Linked DNA regions of Homo sapiens: region 1 is linked to region 2. The links are contacts of gene promoters, found by promoter capture Hi-C in blood cells and fetal thymus (Javierre and others, 2016). All regions are on one chromosome and are shown on one strand. Each heading gives the region's core, a stretch centred on a gene start or on the middle of the fragment in contact. The rest is flanking DNA. Distances are from core to core; before and after follow the strand shown.

What was found. Contacts are between HindIII fragments. The CHiCAGO score rates a contact against its expected background, and 5 or more counts as called.
Region 1: a fragment that was not itself captured here is called in contact with the fragment with the promoter of NAF1 in region 2 in 2 of 17 cell types (total CD4 T cells and naive CD8 T cells); the score reaches 6.4 in total CD4 T cells.

What each region holds. Positions count from the first base shown.
Region 1 is chr4:165,116,296-165,123,130 of GRCh38, forward strand. No RefSeq gene overlaps it. Among named protein-coding and RNA genes, the nearest start is that of TMEM192, 6.9 kb to the left of the region's middle. The HindIII fragment of the contact is 7,778 bases long and covers 1-6,151 here.
Region 2 is chr4:163,163,640-163,170,227 of GRCh38, forward strand. NAF1 (nuclear assembly factor 1 ribonucleoprotein) reads right to left here and starts at 3,251. Exons shown (of 8, transcript NM_138386.3): 1 at 2,724-3,251; 2 at 578-752. The coding sequence starts at 3,088. RefSeq lists enhancers at 2,396-3,263, 2,755-2,834, 2,865-2,984, 3,005-3,204. The HindIII fragment of the contact is 3,845 bases long and covers 554-4,398 here.

The sequences.
Region 1 (6,835 bases), core at 1,013-3,512, 2.0 Mb after region 2:
AGACCCATTGTTTTAATAATATATTAAAAATATGTTCTCAGCCCATATAATGCTCTAATGACTGTTAAAGCAATTTATATAAGCATAGCCCTGTAAATAAGTTATATTTAAAAAGTATCTGACACTTCATTTTTGTATGACTAAAGATCTTTTGGTGAAGATTCTTGCGTTTATTTACTTATGAGGAGTAAGGAGAGGAGGAGAGAAGCTGTTTTCCTAGTGTTGGGGCTCAGAAGATAATATCGGCTAGGCGCAGTGGCTCACACCTGTAATCCCAGCACTTTGGGGGGCCAAGGCGGGCGAATCACCTGACATTAAGACTTCAAGACCAGCCTGGCCAACAGACGAAACCCCATTTCTACTAAAAATACAAAAATTAGCCAGGCATGGTGGCATGCGCCTGTAATCCCAGCTACTCAGGAGGCTGAGGCAGGAGAATGGTTTGAACCCAGAAGCGGAGATTGCACCACTGCACTCCAGCCTGGGCAACAGAGCAAGACACTTTTCAGATTTAAAAGTTTAAAAATGCAACTAGCCTGGCCAAAATGGTGAAACCCCGTCTCTATCAAAAATACAAAAATTAACCAGGTGTGGTGGTGCGTGCCTGTAGTTTCAGCCACTCAGGAGGCTGAGGCACAAGAATTTCTTGAACCTGGGAGGCAGAGGTTGCAGTGAGCCGAGATCATGCCAGTGCACTCCAGCCTGTGTGACAGAGCAAGACCCTGTCTCAACAACAACAACAAAAAAAAAGAAGAGGATAATATCACAAGTATAGTGCTTTTGCATGCTGAGTACTTGAAGTGAAGGACACATTGGCAGGCCTCAAAAGCCAAGTTTCTCTATGACTTTTGAACAAACAGGCCTTGCTGACCCTGGTACTAAGCATTAAAGTAGATGCTTGTAAATTCTTATCCCTACTCAGTCTATTGTCATTAGATCACCTGTAATCCCAGCTACTCAGGAGGCTGAGGCAGGAGAATTGCTTGAACCCGGGAGGCAGAGGTTGCAGTGAGCCGAGATCGCGCCACTGCACTCCAGCCTGGGTGACAGAGCGAGACTCCCTCTTAAATAAATAAATAAATAAATCTGTTATGCTTTTCTCTTGTTAATCTGGCTTTTGTTATAGGAGTGTCAGCCATGACCTTTCCACCTCTATGCTACCAAACAGTTCACCATTAGAAGATGCTGGACTGAAGCCCCATCTTTCCTGTGTTGTCACCATCAGCATTGTTCCAGGCACCGTGCTCATTCCTGATCACAGATATTAAAATGTTAATAATATCTCATTGATTTTTTTTCAACATCAAAATCTGTCCTTTATTCACTATGATTTCTATTATTCAGCCTGGCATAACGTAACATGCATACAAACAATAGGTACTTAATTGATATTTTTGTTAATTTTAAAGCAGGATCTCTTTACTGATATTGACTTTAATCTGCCTTTGAAATGGATTTATTTATTTATTTATTGAATAAAGATGGGGTCTCACTATGTTGCCAAGGCTGGTCTTGATCTCCTGGGCTCAAGCAGTCCTCCCACCTCGGTCTCCCAAAGTGCTGGGATTATAGGCATAAGCCACTGTGCTCAGCCTAAATTTATTTTTAATCAATAAATAAAAGTTATATATATTTATGATGTTCAACATGATGTTTTGGTATATGGATACATTGCAGAATGATTGAATCAAGCTAATTAATGTATTTACCACCTCCCATACTTATTTTTTTTTTCTTAACTTGCCTTTTAAATAAAATTTTAGAACAAGTTGATCCTAGCTAAATATTTCTACAATTCTCTTAGGCTGCCCTATACCATTGTCAGAAATGAAGATATCCAAAATTCTGTCTTTGGATAATGTTTTGTAGCTAAATCTCTCTTAGGTACTTAGAGAGATGCCATTGAAAAATTCCCTTTCAATGAACAGACAAAAAAAGGAGGTCAATAGTTATTTTAGCATATCAAATTATATTTAGTTTATGTACTTTTTTCTGGAAAAATTTTTTTTTCTAGAAAGAAATTTAAGGATATTGTAAGCAATTGGAAACATTCCAGTTTCCACTTATTTGTTTCGTAAATGTTTGTATCTTTCAAAGCACCTGTACCACAAATAGAGTCCCGTTGTAACCAAACATTCCACATTTGAGTGATAATGGACTCTGTTAGAGGTCTCAGGGCTTGTAAAGTTTCAGGCTTGATATCCAGTACTTGCCCTCTCATTATTGTTTGTTTTCTCCTAAAGTTCTTATGATCTCAAATCCTGGCATTTAAAAGCACACTTATTTTTGAAGGCAGAATTTTGTTTGTTTGTTTGTTTCACTGACTCAGGAGCAGAAAAAAAAGTTTGCTAAAAATCCCAAAAGTAATTCATGTTTGGATAGACACCAAATATGTGAAGTTTCAGACCAAAACCACAATTTCTCTGAAAGGTTTTAGAAAACACATACCGAAACTCAGGGTGAAAATGAATTTTGTAACCTTCATGAAACTCAAGGCTACTACTTAGTGATTATAGAGCTGACCTTGTCTAATCTCCACTCACTCCTGATTCTTCTTTAATGCCAAGTACCAGGCTCAGGCATCCAGCCCAAGCAGTCGGCAGCATTCTCATGGGAGGAACTCCTTATTTCAGAAATAATCAGAAGATGGGGCTTTAAGTGCTTTGTAGTGATATCTCTTTTAATTAAGTTCTAGACAGTTAAGAAGTAAAACTTTTCTTTTACAATACAATTCATAATGCTGTGTGTTGAGGTCTAAAAGAATATTTGAAGGTATCCCCAAATAACTTATAAAATAATTATTTTGATTCTCCACACTGAGCTGAGCAGTAGCTCCCTAATCTGGCTCTGATTCAGTTCCAAACTATATGAGGCTTTACCCTCTTTCAGGAAGCTCACTCTGCTGAGTCTCAGTCTTTGTACAACCGTTCTAGGAATCAAAGGGGCCTAGTTCCTTTCCAACTTGACTTTTATATTTCTTTTAAAAGTAATCCCCAGTTGATGGATTATTTATTTATTTATTTATTTTGAGATGGAGTCTCACTCTGTTGCTGGAGTCCGATGGCAGGATCTCGTCTCACTGCAACCTCCGCCTGCCAGGTTCAAGCGGTTCTCCTGCCTCATCCTTCCAAGTCGCTGGGAATATGGGCACCTGCCACCACGCCCAACTAATTTTTTTGTATTTTTAGTAGAGATGGAGTTTCACCATGATGGCCAGGCTGACCTCAAACTCCTGACCTCAGGTGATCTGACTGCCTCAGTCTCCCAAAGAGCTGGGATTACAGGTGTGAGCCACCGCGCCCGACCTGATGGATAATTTAATAATGATGTTGAGAAAACCCACCAGCCACTTGGAAGAAAAAAAAGCTGAATCACTCCCCATTTCTTTTTCTTTATTTTTTTCTTTTTCTTTTTTTTTGAGACAGAGTTTCGCTCTGTCACCCAGGCTGGAGTGCAGTGGTGCAATCTTGGCTCACTGCAACCTCTGCCTCCCGGATTCAAGCAATTCTCCTGCCTCAGCCTCCAGAGTAGCTGGGATTACAGCTGCGCACCATCACGCCTGGCTAATTTTTGTATTTTTAGTAGAGACGGGTTTCACCATGTTGGCTAGGCTGGTCTCAAACTCCTAACCTCAAGTGATCCGCCCACCTTGGCCTCCCAAAATGCTGGGATTACAGGTATGAGCCATCGCGCCCAGTCTACTCCTCATTTCTTAAACCAAAATTAATTACTAATGATTCAGACTAAAACATAAAAAATAAGTAGTTGGCTGTGATAGCTCATGCTTGTAATCCCAGCACTTGGGAGGCTGAGGCAGGAGGATCACTGGAGCCTGGAGTTCAAGGCTGGAGTGAGCAATGATTACAACACTGCACTCCAGCCTGGGTGACAGAGCAAGACCCTGTCTCACAAAAAAAAAAAAAAAAAAAAATTAAAAGAAAAAAAGGTGAAATCAAACCAACAGAATTTCTAGAAAAAATATTTTAATGTGGTCTTACAATACTTTCCATGCATTACCCCGAATACAAAACAATAAAGAAAAAGATTCAAGAAATTTGACTACATAAAAAGTTTGAAACTTTTGCATAAGAAAAAAGAAAACATAAAGTTAAAATACAAATGACAAATAACTAAAAGCAACATAAATATCCATTATTTAAGGAATGAATAAAAAAACTATGATATCTAAACTTAGAAGACTATTCAACCATTTGAAAAATGAGGTAGATCTACATACACTGGCAAAATAAATAGGCCTTTAATATAATATGTTACAAAAGCAGGTTGCAAAATAATAGCTATGCTATAATTTTATCCATGAAAAAAGAATACAAATATAATGCAAAACCCAACTATTTTCATAGGCAAATGTATGCTATGAAAGTTTACAGAGCCAGAAAAATTAAGCAAGAAAAAGAAATAAATGGTATTCAAATTAAAAAGAAACTTCTAAATCAAGGACCAGAGGAAACAAAATAGGAAGATGTGAAACTATTTCTATTCATAGAAGACATAATGTTAAATCTAAAAAACTCTGGCTGGGCACATTGGCTCACACCTGTAATCCCAGCACTTTGAGAGGCTGAGGAGGGTGGATTGCTTGAGGCTAGGAGTTTGAAACCAGTCTGGGCAACATGGCATAACCTCGTCTCTACTAAAAATACAAAAATCAGCGAGATATGGTGGCACATGCCTGTAATTCCAGCTGCTCAGGAGGCTGAGGCACGAGAATTATTTGAATCCAGGAGGCAGAGGCAGAGGATGCAGTAAGCCAAGATTGTGCACTGCACTCCAACCTGGACAACAGAAAGAGACTCCTTTTCAAAAAAAATAAAAATTAAAAATTAAGAAAATAAAAACCTGAAAGAATTCATGAAAAAACTATTACAGCTAATCAATCAATTCAGAAAAGTTTCAGGATATATAATCAACACAAAACTTGGAAGACTCCTACTTCCTGATTTCAAAACGTACTACAAAGCTACAGTAAGCAAAACAGTATGGTACTGGTGTAAAGATAGACATATAGAACAATAAAATCAATCACAGAAATAAAACCACTCATCTGTGGTCAATTGATTTTCAACAAGGATACAAAGATCATTCAACGGAGAAAGAATAGTCTTCAAGAAGTAGGACTGGGCATGGCGGCTCATGCCTGTAATCCCAGCACTTTGGGAAGCCAAGGCAGGTGGATCACCTGAGGTCAGGAGTTCAAGACCAACCTGGTCAACATAGTGAAACCCCATCTCTACTAAAAAATATATACAAAAATTAGCTGGGCATGGTGGTGCATGCCTGTAGTCCCAGCTACTCAGGAGGCTGAGGCACGAGAATTGCTTGAACCCAGGAGACGGAGGCTGCAGTTAGCTGAGATCACACCACTGTACTCCAGCCTGGGCAACAGAGCTAGAATCCATCAAAAAAAGAAAGAAAGAAAAGAAGAAAGAAAGAGAGAAAGAGAGAAAGAGAGGAAAGGAAAGGAAAAAGAAAAAGAAAAAAAAAGAAATGGTGCTGATAAAACTGGAGATTCACTGGCAAAAGAATGAAGTTGGACCCTATCCTTATACTTTATACAAAAAGGACTCAAACTGGATTAGATATCTAAATTTAAGAGCTAAAACTATAAAGCTGTTAGCAGAAAATATAAGGACAAATCTGCATGACCTTGGATTTGGCAATAGTTTCTTAAATATGACACCAAAAGAACAGACCAAAAAAAAAAAATAAGTAAATTGGACTTAATTAAAATTAAAAGGCCAGGAACAGTGCCTCACACCTGTAATCCCAACATTTTCAGAGGCAGAAGGATCACTTGAGGCCAGGAGTTCAAGACCAGCCTGGTCAACATAGAGAGACCCTCATCGAAAAATAAAAAATTTATAAAAACTTATTTATCTACAAAAAAAATTTTTTAATTAGCCAGTCATGGTGGTACACACCTGTAGTCCCAGCTACTCAGGAGGCTGAAGTGGGAGGATTGCTTGAGTCCAGCAGATGGAAACTAATAAGCTATGATTACACCACTGCACTCCAGCCTGAGTGACAGAGTAAGATCCTGTCTCAAAAAGTTGCATATTATATAATTATATATACAATATTATATATAATTTATATGTATATTTTGAAGCTATGTATATAGTAACAATGAAGCTTGTCATTAAAAAGCATGGGAATTAAAAAAAAAAAAAACAGGAATAGGCCAGGCACAGTGGCTCACGCCTGTAATCCCAACACTTTGGGAGGCCAAGGTGTGTGGATCACCTGAGGTCAGGAGTTCAAAACCAGCCTGACTAATATGGTGAAACCCCATCTCTACTAAAAATACAAAAACTACCTGGGCATGGTGGCACACACCTGTAATCCCAGCTACTCGGGAGGCTGAGGCATGAGAATCACTTGAACCCTGGAGGCAGAGGCCATAATGAGTCAAGATCGTGCCACTGCACTCCAGCTGGGCGACAGAGTGAGACTTTAACAACAATAACAACAACAACAGAAAACACAGGAATAGATTTATATCCATTGATTTATATATGCTGCAAAAAGATATAGCTAAGTTAAAAAAATTAATTTGTAGTTATATATATTTGCTTTTGTATACTTGTGAAAATTTTCTGCAAGAATATATAAAAACCATTAAAGGTTATCTCTACTGAGTAGGACTAAAAATGTAGAAAAATATTTTCATTCCAGTTTAAATTTTTCTGCACTCTGAGATTGTTACCATGTGTGACTTTTCAAACTTTATTTAAAAAATTTTAATTATACACATAAATCACGATTACACAGTAAGCAGTTTGGTGTGTGTATTCCTCCAGACTTTTTTCTGTAT
Region 2 (6,588 bases), core at 2,001-4,500:
CAAACCAAACCTATCGAGTGCCAATAAATACCATTCTACAATTAACAAGTTTTCTCCAACTGTAATAATAAAAACACTCCAAAAACTTCAATAGGAATCCTAACAAGTTCAACCCTCTGAATTTCATCTTCTACTTCTCTAAATGCAGTCAATTAAAAAGTCAATTGCTATTGAGCAAAATTTTCTGACGTGCAGACCAAAAAAATTGATTTCAATTGCTATTGAAATTTCAATTGCTATTGAGCAAAATTTTCTGACGTGCAGACCAAAAAAAAAAGCAAATCTACATAAGAAATATCTTCTTCTAGGGAATGTAAAAAATGTAAAGTTCAAAGCTGAAGTTGATGCCATAATCGGAACAATTATCAAAGGTCAGCAGAGTTAGAAGCAACCTAAGAAATTATCCAGATCACTACTCTCTTTTACATAAGAAAGCCAAGGCATACCAAAAGCATGCCTATTAGGCTGAGAATAAATTTCAAATTTATGGAGCAGATATAGGCAAAATTAGATCAATACTGGTACCAGAATACGTTTTAAAACATGCAAACTAAGCTTAATAAATCTAAGTACTTACATTAAGAAGTAATTCATCTTTTGTTTTAAGAGGAAAATTCTTATTTTCCTTCTCAATTTGTAAATCATCATCTCCATCTGACAGCACTGGAGGAAGTGATATACAAGAGGAAGAAGACGACGATGAGGAAGATGAAGAGGAAGACGATGAACTTGAACTATCTGAATCTGTTTCACTGTAGGGAAGAAAACAGTTAAAAAAATAGTCCAGTATTATTATACTAATATTAAAATAAGATTATTCAATTAAGAAATATCAACTTTAATACAAGTTTACTATTGCTTATTCTAATATTAAAATAAGATTATGCAATTAAGAAATATCAACTTTACTACATGTTTACTACTGCTGTTCTAATTCAAAACTAGCACTTCAAAACTGATATGGTATTGGGAAAGTAGTATTTAGTTTACCAATAACATTTTCAAACCTTTGCCATAACCCAGATCCTCTTATTACAATACTCTCACATATCATACACCTGTCTGAATATAAGCAAGCATGTGACAAACCACTAAAAAAAGGGAATTCTGGGCATGGCACCTCTCTTAGTCACAACCACCAGATCGCTTAATTGCCAGATTGCTTAATGAGTTTCTTCTCAGGCTACAGACAACTTGGGAAATCCTCAGTTACGAAAGTATGTAGACCATTCTACTTTCTGAAAACTCACTTGGTCCTTATCTTCCACAGAAATTATCGTTAACAGCAACCACTGTCTCAGTTTAAATTTTGTTTGTTGGCTCCCCACTTGAAGCCCTTTTATATACTATTTTTAAGGGTTCCATCCTCACTTTCTCTTCTTTCGCTACTACTTTCATGGATAATCCCATACACATTAATGATTTCAGTCATCATCCATGTGAATTAACGCCTAAATCTTCAGCTATGACATCTCTAAACTCCATGTCCAATCTCTGACGGCATACTGGCCACCTTTGTACGAATGGCCTATACACCCACACTCATAGCAAGTTAAAACAAGAAAAAGTGCATTATACTAACTAAACCTGCTTCTTCAGTTTCCATTTGATTTCACTGCTGTTAACTGGCAAAAAGTTGTACCCCTTTTGACTTCTTCAAATATTTGGTATCCTCTGCCATCACCCACAGAGTCAGAAGTAGTATCCTGACACTAAGTTGGCCTATTATGACGCCATATCCCTTCTGCTTTCAAAACGTATCCCCAAATCATCTACCATTTACTTTTCTTTGCTAGTAAAATGAGCTCTGAAATCCCACAAGATGATTATACTGCAATCTTAGTACTGCCAAGAAATCCAACCTTGTTTACAGTTGTTACTTCCCCCTCCCAGTACATTTCATACCCTCTCCTTCTACTCAAATCCTTCAGCCTTCTTCACTTCCACTCTCCGCTGATGACTTCCCTGAAAACTAAACTTCTCACCTCCTCAACACGTGTCTATCTTGTTAACCTGTTCAGTACCCCACTCAACACACTCAACTATTTGTAGACAATGTTCAGTGTGGTTTAGTAACATCCCACATGCTGGAGTCCTCTCCAGCCCAGAGATTTCATATTTAAAAGACAGGTGTGGGGGCAAGGGGGAAAGGCTCTCACAAAACGTAAGAAGCATAAGATACTACTAAATAACACTGTTTGGCTACTTTCATAAACACGTGTTCCCTGCAAGGATTCTATAAATTAACGTAATCATCAAGAGCCAGCTTTGAAACACAAAAAATAATACTTTTCCTGATCCCCAATGTATGTGGTTCAAAAAACAAAGCCTAGATGTGATGATAAAAAAAAATCAGATCTGACACAAAACTCAACTATAACCACAAAAGTACAGCCTAAACTGAGTAGTTACGGAAATAACCTAAGATCCTCGGGTTTTCTAAAGTCTAACAAAAAATGATACGATCTATACATAGAACCCTTCAGGCCACCAAATTTAGGAAATAAGTCAGTACTAAGCTCAGATTCACAACGCGACCTGCTTTGAGAGGCAGCGAATAAGGGGCAGTCGGAGCCAATACTTCAACACGTGAGCCCGGAGCACCAACGACCTGCCCACCCTCCAGGGCCCACACAAGCAACCTCTAGGCTCCTAGGCCCCAGCCACCCCCGCCCGTCATACAAGACCTCTCCCCACAGCTCCGGGTCCCTTAGGCACCCGACCTGTCCGAGTCCGAATCCGAGTCCGAGGTCTCCAAGGAGTCCGGCGCCCGCGCAGGCTCTGCGGCTCCTGGGGAGGTGACGCAGTCTCCGCAGGCCGGCGATTCAGCCGGTGGCTGTGGCTGCGGCGCCGGGGTCCCGGCCGCGACGGCGTTCAGAACGGGCTGCAGAGGCTGCTCCCCGGCAGGCTTAACCTCCACGGTCTGCCCAGCGTCCGGGGACCCCTCAAACGACTGTAGCGGCGGCTGTGTCCCTGGCACAGGGGCAGAGCCCGGAGACGGAGCCGCCGGACCTTCCCCAACTCCAAAGTCGGTGCCATTGAATTTCAGAGTTTCCAGCTGAGCGGCGGCGGCCTCCACTACCTCCATCGCACCGCGCCAGAAACCGGGTCGGCCTCAGGATTGGGGCCCCTGGACAAGCTCACGGCTCTCTCCAGAAATAGAAAAACAACTTAGGCAACCGCAGCAACACTGCCTGGGCCCAACTTCCCGCGTTTCTCAGGTAACTACACGCGGAGGAGCCAAAAGACACGCCCCCGCCATTTACGCAGCAACGCTTTCCGAAGAGCGTGTGACGTATGTGGCGCGACGGCGCGACGGCGCTCGCGGGGGCAGGATACATGCGTCATATCTTCGAAAATCAGGATTAGGGGGTCGGGCGCCGTGGCTCACGCTCGTAATCCCAGCACTTTGGGAGACCGAGGTGGGCGGATCACAAGGTCAGGAGTTCACAGACCAGCCTGCCCAACATGGTGAAACCCCATCTCTACTAAAAATACAAAAATTAGCTGGGCATGGTGGCGCGTGCCTGTAATTCCCACTACTTGGGAGGCTGAGGCAGGAGAATCGCTTGAACCCAGCAGGCGGAAGTTGGAGTGAGCCGAGACCGCGCCACTGCACTCCAGCCTGGCGAGAAAGCGAGACTCCGTCTCAAAAAAAAATAATCAGGACTAGGGAGGCCCTAAATCGACCGTTTTCACTGCGTCATGTGAACCATTCAAGGCCTGAATGTCGGATTTTCCTATTGCTGCATGTGAACCAATTCTGCTTGAAGCGCCAAAATGAAGCAGGGATTATACAACAGGGGGGTGCCTGAAGAATGCTAAGTTCTGTACATCAGAAACTTGAGCCAGGAAGTCTTGACAAGACGCTAGTAACTTCATGAAAGTTAAATGAAGTTTATCCATCAATAGATCCATCTGTCGATAGATAGGGTATTAACCATTTTTTCAAAAATGTAACTACAACTATTCCATTTTCCTTTCTCCAAAGTACCCTCAAAGAGAGCAGTAATGGACAAAATTTTGCTGTGTTGTTCATGTTATGGTGATGTCTATATCATACTTAGCACTGTTTCGTAGTAGAGAGATGAGACTATGAGACTGAAATGTACTCACTTATTGTTGGAAACCACTAGTCTAAATTGTGGAGAAAGCAAGCAGAGTTCTTAGGACTGAGGAAGAGATCAGAATTTTCTGGTTTCCTATTAGGTCTTCAGTTTGAGGCATCAGTCCCTGTGTAGTAATAATAATCATTGATACCATTTGTTAAACATGCATATGTGCCAAGGACTGTGCTAAAGATTTTATAAATTATTCACTGAGAATTTAGTGTGTCATCTACAACAGTAGATCTTCATAGAAATGCAAGGCAAGTGTAATAAGAGTAAGGTTTTAAGAAGCTTACAATCTACTTGAAGTAGAGAAGGGCAATGCACAGGAGATAACTAGAAAAATATTTGAAATATGAAATAGAAAATCCAAGTGCAGCAGAAATGGGAAGTAGGATTGGTAGGCTATTTCATGGAAATCCTCCAAAGTGAAGAAGGACTTTAAACTTGGGATACGAACTTACTAGCACAATGATTAAGCAGAGCTCAGAGTTTTCAACTAAAAAGACCTGTGTTCAGGCCTCAGCTCTACCATTTTGTGTTTGGTGTTACTGACTTTGGGCAGTTAATCTAAATCCTAATTTCCTTATCTGTAAAATGGAGATAAAAATACTATCTCATTTAGTTCATGTGAGCACTAAGTAAGGCTTTATATAAGGGAGTGGCATGTCATACATTCAGTGTGCAAAAATACTTGGAAAATGGAACAATGCATGAACTCACGAATAAAATATTTAATTAACAATGATCTTGCAAAGACATGCAGTACAGATTTGAGAAGGGAAGACGTTTGAGCCAGAATTATTCCCCAGCCAGCCACTTTGTTGCATTTTTCCAGGAATTAGGTGATAAAAGTCTGAACTAGGCTTACAGTCAATGAAATAGAGTAAAGGACATCCCCAGCATCAGGGGAAGAATAAAAGTACTCTAAAATTTCTGGTCAAGGAAATTAGAAAGAAGTTGGTATTACCAATAAAAACGGAGAAGTTGGCCAGTCGCAGGGCCTCACGCCTGTAATTCCAGCATTTTGGGAGGCTGAGGTAGGCAGATCACCTGAGGCCGGGAGTTTGAGACCAGCCTGGCCAACATGACGAAAACCCATCTCTTCTAAAAATACAAAAACTTAGCTGGGCATGGTGGTGGGCACCTGTAATCCCAGCTACTTGGGAGGCTGAGGCAGGAGAATCGCTTGAACTCAGGAGGCAAAGGCTGCAGTGAGCCAAGATTGCACCATTGCACTCCAGCCTAGGCAACAAGAGGGAAACTCCCTCTCAAATTAATTAATTAATTAATTAAACGGAGAAGTTGGAAAGAGATGTGGGTATGTGAAGTTGAGTCTGAAGAAAAACTAGACAATTAAAAATGTAAATAGGCATTTAAAAATAAGAAACTGGAATTTGACAGAAAGGTTAAGACCAGAAGCCTAAGTTATGGGATAATTGAAATACTCATTTGTTCATTCAGTAATCATTTTCTTAACATTACGATATGCTGTGCACTGCATTATAAACTATGCATACAGGAAGATAAACACAGTCCCTACCCTTATGGAGTTAACAGTTCAGTAGAACAGACAAGTTGAAAACAAGCAGAAGGTACTATAGTAGAGAAATGTACCATGTAAATGCAAGAATGTATGAAATGGGAAAACTAAAGACAGAGAAGATACTTGGAAAATTAAGGAAAATGTACTATAAGAGATATATCGTGGCTATAAGAGTAATTATAGCCATAAGGCTCACTCAAGTGTCTTGAGGGGCTGACACTAAATGTATTTATCAATATAATACTAACTGGCCCTGGAGATTTCCACCCCTGGCCCAGTGATTTCCAGGAGACCAGGCCACTTCAGCACAGATGCAACTTTCATGAACCTTAAAGCTTACCCTTGTAAGAATAGCTTCGACTCCATTTATGAGAGAAACATCTGATAACTGACCAAGCTGAATACAGGTTTTAAAAAGGGGGAAGAAACCCCCAACACTGAGAACAGTCTCTGGTTGGAGGCTCTCTTGATCATCCGAGCCCTGACTATCTGGTCTATACCCCCAGCCTCTTCCCACTATCTTTTAAGAGCGATGCCAGAATAAACTACTAAAGCATGAGACAGTCTCTAAGACTCATCTTTGACTTGAATAGAACTGAATGGGAGAAGTCACCTCTAGGAAAGCTGGTTAAACAGGACCACCCAACCACTGCCTCACTGACAATGACAAAAGGCTTTACAATGCGTGTGATACTTGAGCTGGACTTTTAAAGAGAACCATGAATTTGTTAATCTGAGAAAACAGGAGACCTTCACAGGGGATAATAAATAAGATCATTGTAATTTCCTGCTTAATTATTTATAAACTCTAAATATTTGTAAGCACACTTAGAATAAAATTCAGACTCCCTGCTTTGGCTTTCAACAGTCTACCTGATCTGGCCACTACTTACCTCTCCAGTTTCTATCTCCTACCGTCTTCCCCACCCTTGT